Linked DNA regions of Homo sapiens: all the other regions are linked to region 2. Evidence: promoter capture Hi-C in human tissues and cell types (Jung and others, 2019). All regions are on one chromosome and are shown on one strand. Each heading gives the region's core, a stretch centred on a gene start or on the middle of the fragment in contact. The rest is flanking DNA. Distances are from core to core; before and after follow the strand shown.

What was found. The method cuts DNA at HindIII sites, captures the fragments that hold promoters and counts their contacts. A contact is called where the count stands out against the background at its distance.
Region 1: a contact is called between a fragment that was not itself captured here and the fragment with the promoter of RSF1 in region 2, in 1 of the 25 tissues and cell types used here (mesenchymal stem cells).
Region 3: a fragment that was not itself captured here is called in contact with the fragment with the promoter of RSF1 in region 2 in 2 of the 25 tissues and cell types used here (aorta and dorsolateral prefrontal cortex).

The regions. Positions count from the first base shown.
Region 1 is chr11:77,977,906-77,981,085 of GRCh38, forward strand. INTS4 (integrator complex subunit 4) reads right to left here. Exons shown (of 23, transcript NM_033547.4): 4 at 1,091-1,197. Among named protein-coding and RNA genes, the nearest start is that of INTS4, 15 kb to the right of the region's middle. The HindIII fragment of the contact is 5,857 bases long and covers 1-3,180 here.
Region 2 is chr11:77,819,320-77,822,560 of GRCh38, forward strand. It overlaps RSF1 (remodeling and spacing factor 1), which reads right to left and starts at 1,403. Exons shown (of 16, transcript NM_016578.4): 1 at 1,209-1,403. The coding sequence starts at 1,395. AAMDC (adipogenesis associated Mth938 domain containing) reads left to right here and starts at 1,825. Exons shown (of 4, transcript NM_024684.4): 1 at 1,825-1,922. RefSeq lists enhancers at 1-757, 53-162, 758-1,730, 1,283-1,452, 1,463-1,602 and silencers at 793-882, 1,023-1,112, 1,703-1,862. The HindIII fragment of the contact is 12,017 bases long and covers 1-3,241 here.
Region 3 is chr11:77,684,086-77,687,530 of GRCh38, forward strand. RSF1 (remodeling and spacing factor 1) reads right to left here. Exons shown (of 16, transcript NM_016578.4): 10 at 1,020-1,074. Among named protein-coding and RNA genes, the nearest start is that of CLNS1A, 48 kb to the left of the region's middle. The HindIII fragment of the contact is 6,273 bases long and covers 1-3,445 here.

The sequences.
Region 1 (3,180 bases), core at 681-3,180, 160 kb after region 2:
TAAAGACAGAGTCTCACTCTATCACCCAGACTGGAGTGCAGTGGCTCAATCTCCACTCACATAACCTCCGTCTTGCAGGTTCAAGCGATTCTCCTGCCTCAGCCTCCCTAGTAGCTGGGATTACAGGCAGGCATCACCGTGCCCGGCTAATTTTTTTTGTATTTTTAGTAGAGATGGGGTTTCACCATGTTGGTCAGGCTGGTTTCAAACTCCTGATGTCAAATGATCCGCCCACCTCTGCCTCCCAAAGTGCTGGGATTATAGGTGTGAGCCACCGCACCTGGCCCTATTTAAGCTTTTAGTATTGTACTTGTCAAAGTGTTTTTGGTTTTATGTATGCCTGTTGTTTTAAGATAAATCAAGTAATCTTTCCTGCATCTCTGAGATAGCTTTCTAATTTCAAGAATATAATACTCTAACACAATTCAAATGCATTTGACTTTTTTATATTCTCAAAGTTATCAAAAAGATCCAAAGTAAAATCAATTCTACAGGGTTCTAGGGGTTGCTGTGTATACACAAAGAGGCTAATTAACCTCCAAATTAAATCAAAAGGCACAATTAATGTATTAATACATGTATTTAAAAATCAGAAAAAAAGAACGTACAAAACTTTTCCCATACATTTACTTGTGTATAGTTGGTCTGTTTATTGAAGCAACAAGGCATAATAAAAACAAAACAAGTTTGGGGTCAGAAAAAATACAGTTTATACCCTGGTACTGCAACCTCCTAGCTGTGCAAACTTAGACAAATCAGACTCCATAAATCTTAATTTTCACCTTTGTAAAAGAGAAATAACGGTACTTACTTGAAGGATTGTGAGGACCAAATGAAAAACTGAATACAAAGCACCATAACAAGCAGAGTGCATTATTAGGCACAATATACACAGTAACTATGTACTGTAATTATTTTCATTTGTTTTGAAAGGATGACGAAATACACTTTATAACAAGTGTACTTAACTTTATTCCTAATCCAACACCAAGAGATGAAAAAAATAAGGCAGCTCCTAAAACCATTAATGGTCCTTAGCAGTCCTCAGTTACCAGTTTAGGATGGATCTGAATAGATTTTATACTCTTACCTTGCAGGCCACATCAACTAATCGCATTTGGATAGCTTGATTCTCTGGTAGCTTAGTGCCAATTGCAAGCAAAGTATCCAGCAGTTGAGCTAGGACTTGATGAGACTCTAGAGAGGGAGATAGAAAGTTGGCTTGTAGAATTTCGAAAGGGGTAACTATATAAACTAATTTACTTGGGTAAAGAATGTAGATTGGCTAGGCGCAGTGACTCACAACTGTAATCCCAGCACTTTGAGAAGCCTAGGCAGGAGAATCCCTTGAGCCCAGGAGTTCAAGACGAGCCTGGGCAACATAGGGAGACTCCGTTTCTACAAAAATAAATCTGAAAAAATGAGTCAGCCAGGTGGTGTGCGCCCAGAGTCTCAGCTACTTAGGAGGCCGAGGTAGGAGGACTGCTTGAGCCTCAGAGATCAAGGCAGCAGTGAGCCGTAATCGCGCCACAGCACTCCAGCCTGGGCAACAGAGCGAGACCCAGTCCTAAAAAAACAGAAAAAAAAACAGACTTTTGTCAACTGGGTTCTACTGTGTGATCCTTCATGCCCTCAACTAAAAGCTAAGTTCCTAAAGGGATCATGTTTAAATGTCTGAGTCCTCCACGGGATAGAGTACAGTTCTATATACATAGTGTGCTCCAAAAATGTTTAGTGCTTGACTGATTCAAGAGTTTTTTCACACTAAGAAACAGAAAAAAAAAAAAAAGGCCAGGCACGGTGGTGGCTTATGCCTGTAATCCCAGCACTTTGGGAGGCTGAGGCGGGCAGATCATGAGGTCAGGAATTCGAGACCAGCCTGACCAACATGGTGAAACACCATCTCTACTAAAAACACAAAAAATAGCCAGGCATGGTGGCACGTGCCTGTAATCCCAGCTACTCAGGAGGCTGAGGCAGGAGAATCGCTTGAACCCGGGAGGCGGAGGTTGCAGTGAGCCGAGATCGCTCCACTGCACTCCAGCCTAGGCGACAGAGCAAGACTCCATCTCAAAAAAAAAAAAAAAAAGAAGAAACAGAAAAAAAAAAAAGTTTTCCATTGCCTTCAAGATAAAGTCCAAATATCCTAGAAGGCATATAATACATACATACCAGGCCTTCCATGTTGTCTACCCTTGCCTATCTTTCTAGCTTCATCTTTTTCAGGTCTCCTTTAACACTCTTTTTTCCAACTACTTATAATTACATGCCCCCTATCTTTGCTCAGGCTAACTTCTCTAAGTAGAATGCCTTCCCCCACACCTGACTCCATTCTTGACCCCACTCCCCACTGAACACCTAGTTATCCTTAAAATGTCACCTCTCATGTAGCTACCATAAGAATTTTCCATGGGAAAAAATGATACTTCTGTACTGAAGCAATGCTATTGTTTTGGTGCTTGTATTTATTTTTTTATTTTAATTTATTTTTTGAGACAGCGTCTCGCTCTGTCACCCAGGCTGAAATGCAGTGGCATGATCATGGCTCACTGCAGCCTCAATCTCCTAGGCCCAAGAAGTCCTCACATTTTAGCCTCCCAAGCAGCTGGGATAAAGGTGTGAGCAACCATGTTTGGCTAATTTTTTAATATTTTGTAGAGACAAGATCTAATTATGTTGCCCAGACTGGTCTCAAATTCCTGGGCTCAAGGGATCCTCCCACCTCGACCTCCCAAAGTTTTGGTATTACAGGCCTAGCCTAACCTGTGCCTAGCCTGTTTTAGTGCTTTTAAAAATGTGTCTTGGCCGGGCACAGTGGCTCACGCCTGTAATTCCAGCACTTTGGGAGGCTGAAGTGGGTGGATCACAAGGTCAGGAGATCAAGACCATCATGGCTAACATGGTGAAACCCTGTCTCTACTAAAAATACAAAAAAAATCAGCCAGGGCGTGGTGGCAGGCACCTGTAGTCCCAGCTACTTGGGAGGCTGAGGCAGGAGAATGACGTGAACCCGGGAGGCAGAGCTTGCAGTGAGCCGAGATCGTGCCACTGCACTCCAGCCTGGGAGACAGAGCGAGACTCCGTTAAAAAAAAAAAAAGTTTCTTGATGGAACGAGTACTGTATGTTCAGTTACAGGTTTCAGTGTAAGCTGAAATAATCCTTTTAGAAAGCAATAGGGT
Region 2 (3,241 bases), core at 153-2,652:
AAAAGCCTTCTCTGAGGAAAGAAAAGTGCCAGAAAAGGAGAGGCAGGGATCGGGAATAAATGGGGGTGAGTATAAGCACTCAGTGTGAAGGCTGGAGGCAGCAGGCGCAGCGCTGAGATGCTCCAGCAAAAGAACCAGCAGCAGCAGCAGGAAGTTTCAATGGGGCCGGGCAGAGCATGCGCCCTGCACCCGCGCGGTGGCCTTATGTGGAAGGAGCACCACTTGCGAACACCAATAATAGACCAGCGGCACCAGAGAGAGAAACATGAGCAACAAGCACCTTCTTCAACTGTTTCCCCCTCCGTCAGAGCCCCTCCTCCAGCTTACATACTAACCACCCCACCCTACCGTGCAAATGGGAGGGAGACGACTTCTTCGCCTAAGCCCGGCTGCCAAGATGAAGGGGGAAGGGATTGGAAAAGTGGGGAGATGCTCGCCTATTATTTTGGGGGAGGTGGGGAGAGGAAGGAGAACTATGGAGGAGGAATTAACCCTCTCCTCTCCACAGTGGAGCTGAACCGACTTCGCCCCCCTACCGAGAATGGAGAAGAACCCCCTCCCGTGGGGGAGGAGCAGACCTCCCCACTTCAAGGAAGGAGTTTTAGGGGTTAAAGCAGCCCTCGAGGGGAAGGGAAAAGGGACAAATCTCTCAGGGGAGTTCCCAACAGAGGGAGGGAGAGTTGAGTGTCCGCTGGCCCCCGCCCACCCAGGTGAAGGGAGATAAGGAGGTGTCCGGAGCAGCCGAGCCCAGCCTTCCCCGAGATGGTCGGGAAGACTGGTGGGAGGAGGGGAGGGAGTAAGGGTGGGGAGGAGGAGAAAAGCGCAAAGCTGGCCGGAACCTGCGCTCCCCTTCCCCCGCCGCCAAGGGGGAGACGGGGTGGGGGGCCGCCCTCCGCCGCGGAGAAGCAGTCCCCGGGGCTGCCGACCGGCACAATGACCCCTCCCCGCCTCCAGCCCACACCTAGCCCGCAACGCCTCCACCTCAGCTCCCCGCCCGGCCGAGTGGCCCTAGGGGGCCTCCGCCCCGCCTCCCCACTGCCCAAGACCCCGGGGGCTGGGCGGAGAAGACCAGCCCGGCGGAGTTGCGTCCCAGGGGGAAGACAGAGCCGCGGAGGCCCGAGCCGCGAAGAACCGGGGCGCCTGTGAAGAGCGGAGAGTAGCAGAGCGCCAGGGCCGCTTCCCGCCGGGCGTTCGGGCCCCTCGCTTACCTTCTCCGTTGCCGACGTCCGGCGGCGGCGCCTGCAGCACCCGCTCCAGCTCAGGGAACGGCAACTCAGGCAGGTCTAGCAGCGGCCCGTAGCGCTCCAAGAAGGAGCAGACTACGGCGAAGTTGGGGCACGAACCCGGGCAGCCCGGAGGAGCCATCACCGCCGCCGCTGCCGCCGCCGTCGCCATTTTGAACTGGAGGATGGAGGAGGAGGCGATGGGGGGGCGGGGGAAGTTGTGGTGCCGAGGGATGGCAAGGCAACCTTACAGACGACAGGAGGCGCTCTCAAGTGGGCTCCTCTGCGGATCCCAGCGTCTCAGGGACGGCTCCGCGATCCCACAATACATCGGCGGCCCGGAGCAGTCGAGAACCGAGTCAGACGGGAGACAGAGCGGCCCTCGGCGCCTTTCACTTTCCGCCCTCTTTCCGCCCCCTTCTCTCCTCCCCTTCGGGCTTGCCACTGCCTCGTGTGACAGGGGGAATGAAAACAAGGGAAGCGGGGCGGGGAGGCGGGCTGGAAGCGGGAGGGGCGGGACTTCTCGAGAACAATGGCCAATGGACGCAGAGGGGGCGGGGCCTCGGGCGCTGTTCAACTGCAGGGCGTATTCCCGGAGGGCAGTTGGGGAGCGCAGATCCCGAAGCAGCGCTGGGAGCGTAAGTGCGGGCAGAGCACTGCGCCGTTTGGGAACGCAACTTTGAGGAGACAGTGCGGTGGGTGAGTTTGCGGGGGAATCCTGAAACTGGGCCACGAGATGGTGGAGAGGTTGAGGAGAATTAATAAACAGAAAAAGGGAATAGGGCGGGGGAAAGCACAGTTGTGGGAGAAGGTTGGGAAGGGGAAAGGTAGAGGTGTGCCCTTAATTAGGGGCTGGGCTGGGACCTCGGTAAGATGTCTCTGTGGAAGTTTGCCGACGGGGTATTGCTCTCTGCTGGGGTACAGGAATCGCAGCTTTGCTGGAAAAGCAGGATCTGAGGGAACGGAACTCTGGGGGAATCGTCGGAGTGAGGAGTTGGGGCCCTGCTGGGAGAAGAGGATCTGAGGAGACCAGGCTCTGCTAGGGGGCCATGGTGTGAGGGGAAGGGGCTCTGTTCAGGGACCAGAATCGGAGTGTGGGCTGGGACTCCATTGAGAGGCGGAACATGACAGGAGACGGTGGAGCAGCGAAAAGTTTGTTAGAAGACAGGGTTCCACTTCGGGGCGGGGCGGGGGCAGTGAACATTCCCACAAAGAACGCCAGAGAGAAACTACCAATAATGTAAAATAGAATGTGCAGCCTGAGAAGCAGCAGTACACGTTATGCTTAGAAGCCTGAGCTTTGGATTCAGCCAGGCCTGAGTCCTAGCGGGGCTACTTCATGACACTGTGGAGGTTTCTTTATTTCTTTGAACTCCTTAGAGTGGGGTGATAATAGTACCTACATCATACGGTATTACTAGATAAATCACAGTAAAGTGATTAGCACAGTGCCGTAGCACATAGTGAGTACTTTAAAAATATTAGTTATCAAAAAAGGAGTTCCTATAATTTAGACTGAATTCCGCTATATTTATTTAGTCTATAATTTATTACTTTGAGAATTTTCTGAGTGCATTTAAAACTCAATGTAGTACCTAATTCCTAAAAAGAATTTGGCCGGGCGCGGTGGCTCATGCCTGTAATCCCAACACTTTGGGAAACCGAGGTGGGTGCATCACCTGAGCTCTGCAGTTCCAGACCAGCCTGGGCAACATGGTGAAACCCCGTCTCTAGTAAAAATAACGAAAATTAGCCGGGAATCCTTGGGAGGCTGATGCAGGAGAACCCCTTGAACCGGGGAGGCGAAGGTTGCAGTGAGTCGAGGTCGCGCCACTGCACTCCAGCCTGAGCGACAGAGCAAGACTCCACCTCAAAAAAAAAAAAAAAAAAAAAGAATTTGAAGCAAGGTACAACACAAACCATGTAAAAAAGAGAAATCTGTAATTATAGAAAGATAAGAAATAGATGGGCAAATAATTATATGAGTAACAGGGAAAATGGTCACACAAACACCGAAT
Region 3 (3,445 bases), core at 823-3,322, 130 kb before region 2:
GATGAAGTTTTTCCATTGATAAATAATTTAATTTGCAACAGAAGATGTTCAACAGGTATGCTGCATGAATGAAAGATTTAGAAGAAAGGGGTTGCTACTCAAGGAAATAACTTGACAGGCCTTTTAAGCTTGTGATTTAATTAAGCCGGAATGAAATTACTTATACACATTTTTACAAATTGCAAAAATTACAAATTATGTAAATTACAAAACCACATTTTATGCACTTTCACTCATGATATACCCACCTTAGTTATAAATTAGACTAATAAATGCAAAACAAAGGTAATCCTTCAAAAAACCCAAACTGTGTTGAAAAATACAAACTGAAGTTTTCAACAATCCCCAAAATAAAAATTAAAAATCAAATCTCCCCAAACTCTTCTTTAGTCATTTTACATAAACAGCATGCAAAACAAGCTAACAACACATTATAAAGTTCAGTGTAAAAACAGAAAACATACTCCAAAGGTAAAAGCTGTAAGTTTAGTTTAGATGTGATATCACATTTTGGAGTTACCTGCATACATAAAATTTCAATCATGAGGGATTATGGGTGATTTCTCGAAGGTCTTAAATTTCCATTTTTAATACTGGTGTATCATAGATTTAAAACCACTGTCCAGGAGCAGTGGCTCACACCTATAATCCCAGCACTTTGGGAGACCAAGACAGGCAGATCACCTGAGGTCAGGAGTTCGAGACCATCCTGGCCAACATGGTGAAACCCCGTCTGTACTAAAAATACAAAAATTAGCCGGTATGGTGGCGGGCACCTGTAATCCCAGCTACTCAGGAGGCTGAGGCAGGAGAATTGCTTGAACCCAGGAGGCAGACACTGCAGTGAGCAGAGATTGCGCCATTGCACTCCAGTCTGGGCAACAAGAACGAAACTCCATCTCGAAATAAATAAATAAATAAATAAATAAATAAAACCACTAACATTACATAAGGTGGGTAAAATTTTAGAGCAATTATGACAATCTCCCATTTAAAAACATTACAAATCAGAAACTTACTTGTGGAGGAATGATGTTTTCAATACTGATACCAACATACACCAAGCGTTCTTTTCTTTAGGTGAAAAACAAACAAAATACATGAGATTTGCAGAAAATAAAACTGTTATGTAAACATCACGAATACACATAATGTTAAAATTACAATTTCACGTTAACAGCAGAGGGTAAGTCACAGAAATGTTAGCTATTATTTATTTATTTATTTATAGACAAGGTCTCACTCTCTTGCCCAGGGTGGAGTGCAGTGGCGTAATCTTAGCTCACTGCAACCTCTACTTCCCGGGTTCAAGTGATTCTACTGCCTCAGCCTTGCAAGTAGCTGGGATTACAGGTGAGAGCCACCACAACCAGCTAATTTTTGTATTTTTAGTAGAGATGGGGTTTTGCCATGTTGGCCAGGCTGGTCTCAAATTCCTGGCCTCAAGCGATCCACCCACCTTGACCTCTCAAAGTGCTGGGATTATAGGTGTGACCACTGCTCCTGGCCCATGTTAGCTATTAAGTATAAAACTTTAATATAGTATTAGTATGTGTGGGGAGCTCAACATTTCCTAGGGTTAAGATAACAATATCTTTCAGAAATGACTTACATTGGTGAAATAAAACCTATAACTGAAATAAGACAAGCAACTTCATCAAGAGTCATGCTGTGACAAGTTGATAAGATTAGATGGAAAGCCACCTTTGATTAGACAAATTAGATCTTTGTTATGCTGGAGAAAGTTTTTAGTAATATTTTGGGTGTATGTATAAACAATTATAAACTCATGGTAATAAATATTGCTATAAAAATTATGTAAACAAAACCTTATCAAGGTCCCAGTGAATGACACTGAGACCATTCATTCCTTGCTGTTGAAAGAGAAAAAAGCAATGCAGACGTATAGCTCTGTGCTCTAGAAGGCCACAGCTGAAGATAACTAGAGCCAGGAAATACAGACTTGAGCCAATGACATCTCCATAGTTTCATTTCCAAGAAACAAACCTTTGTTGATTTTAATTAAATTACATATTAAAAAAACAGCAGGATGGCTGGGTGTGGTGGCTCATGCCTGTAATCCAAAGCAGGAGGTCCCCCGACGCTGGGAATTCAAGACCAGCTGGGCAACACAGTGAGACGCCTGTTTCTATAAAAATTGAAAAAATAAAAATTGGCCAGGTATGGTGGCACACACCTATTGTCCCAGCTACTCAGAAGGCTGAGATGGGAAGATTACTTGAACTCAGGAGTTGGAGGTTGCAGTGAGCTTTGATCATGCCACTGCACTCCAGCCTGGGCATCAAGAGTGAGACCCTGTCTCAAAAAAAAAAAAAAAAAAAAGCAGGTGTTTTCCCTGGTTCTCTCAAAGTTAATCCAATTCAAGAACAGCTGAGCTCTGACATGCCTCTGTATGTTAAATTGAACTGAACTGAAATAGTAATCATTCTGTCTCTCTCTGCTTGTAATGTTCCTTATATAAGGATATTAATGTATCCAGCTGGCTAGGTCTTTTAGAGTGCAGCCTTTAGTGCCCTGCTAACAAGAATATTCATGGTCTTTTTAGAGATAGGTTGTGATGCTATTAAAACTGGTATGTTTAAAAATCATTCAGTGGACTTCTAAAACATCAGATTTCACAGAGCATCACACCATCAGGTCTGTAGACAGTTGCTGGCTAGCCACTAAATACTCACTGAAATGTATATCCATCCCTCTTTTCCACAAGACTGTAGAGACCTCTATGGTAAAGACCACATTATATACTTCCTCATTTGATTACACTCATTGGCATAAAGTAGGTACCCAATACATGTTGCTTAAATGTTGAATGACTGCATAAACAAGGGTTGCTTAGGGAGTAAACAGGGAGTAAAATGCTCTTGTATTATGACATAGGGAGTAAGTACACCTCTAAGCTGCTAGGATGAATGCTAATAAGTTATTTCACAGATTTTTAAAAAGTGAATATAAGTGCTTACTTTAGAAAACTGAATGACGATGGCTAGAATTTACAGCTAATATTTATTTTAGAAACACATATTTTGCTGTTTAGAGCTCCTAAGATTCATATACATGTGTGTGTATACATGCACACACACACATACTTGTATTCTAGGAACTATATACAACAAAAGCTTTGTTAACCAGATTATTAGGGAGAATCAGCAAACACCAACAACAATCCATTAACTGGCTCTGTGCCAGACTGGTCTTCCTGTAACAGTAACTTTCCTTTCTTTTCTATACACAATCTGAGAACTTAGTGTATGATATAAAGTCATAATTACAGATGTCCTCTTAAAGGATGACATTTAAAGCCAGGTGTGGTAGCTCATGCCTGTAAACCCATAATTTTGGGAGGCCAAGGTTACCCACCTTGGGTAACCTTGGGTAGATCACTTGAGGCTAGGCATTTGAGACCAAGCTGGCCAACATGGCAAAA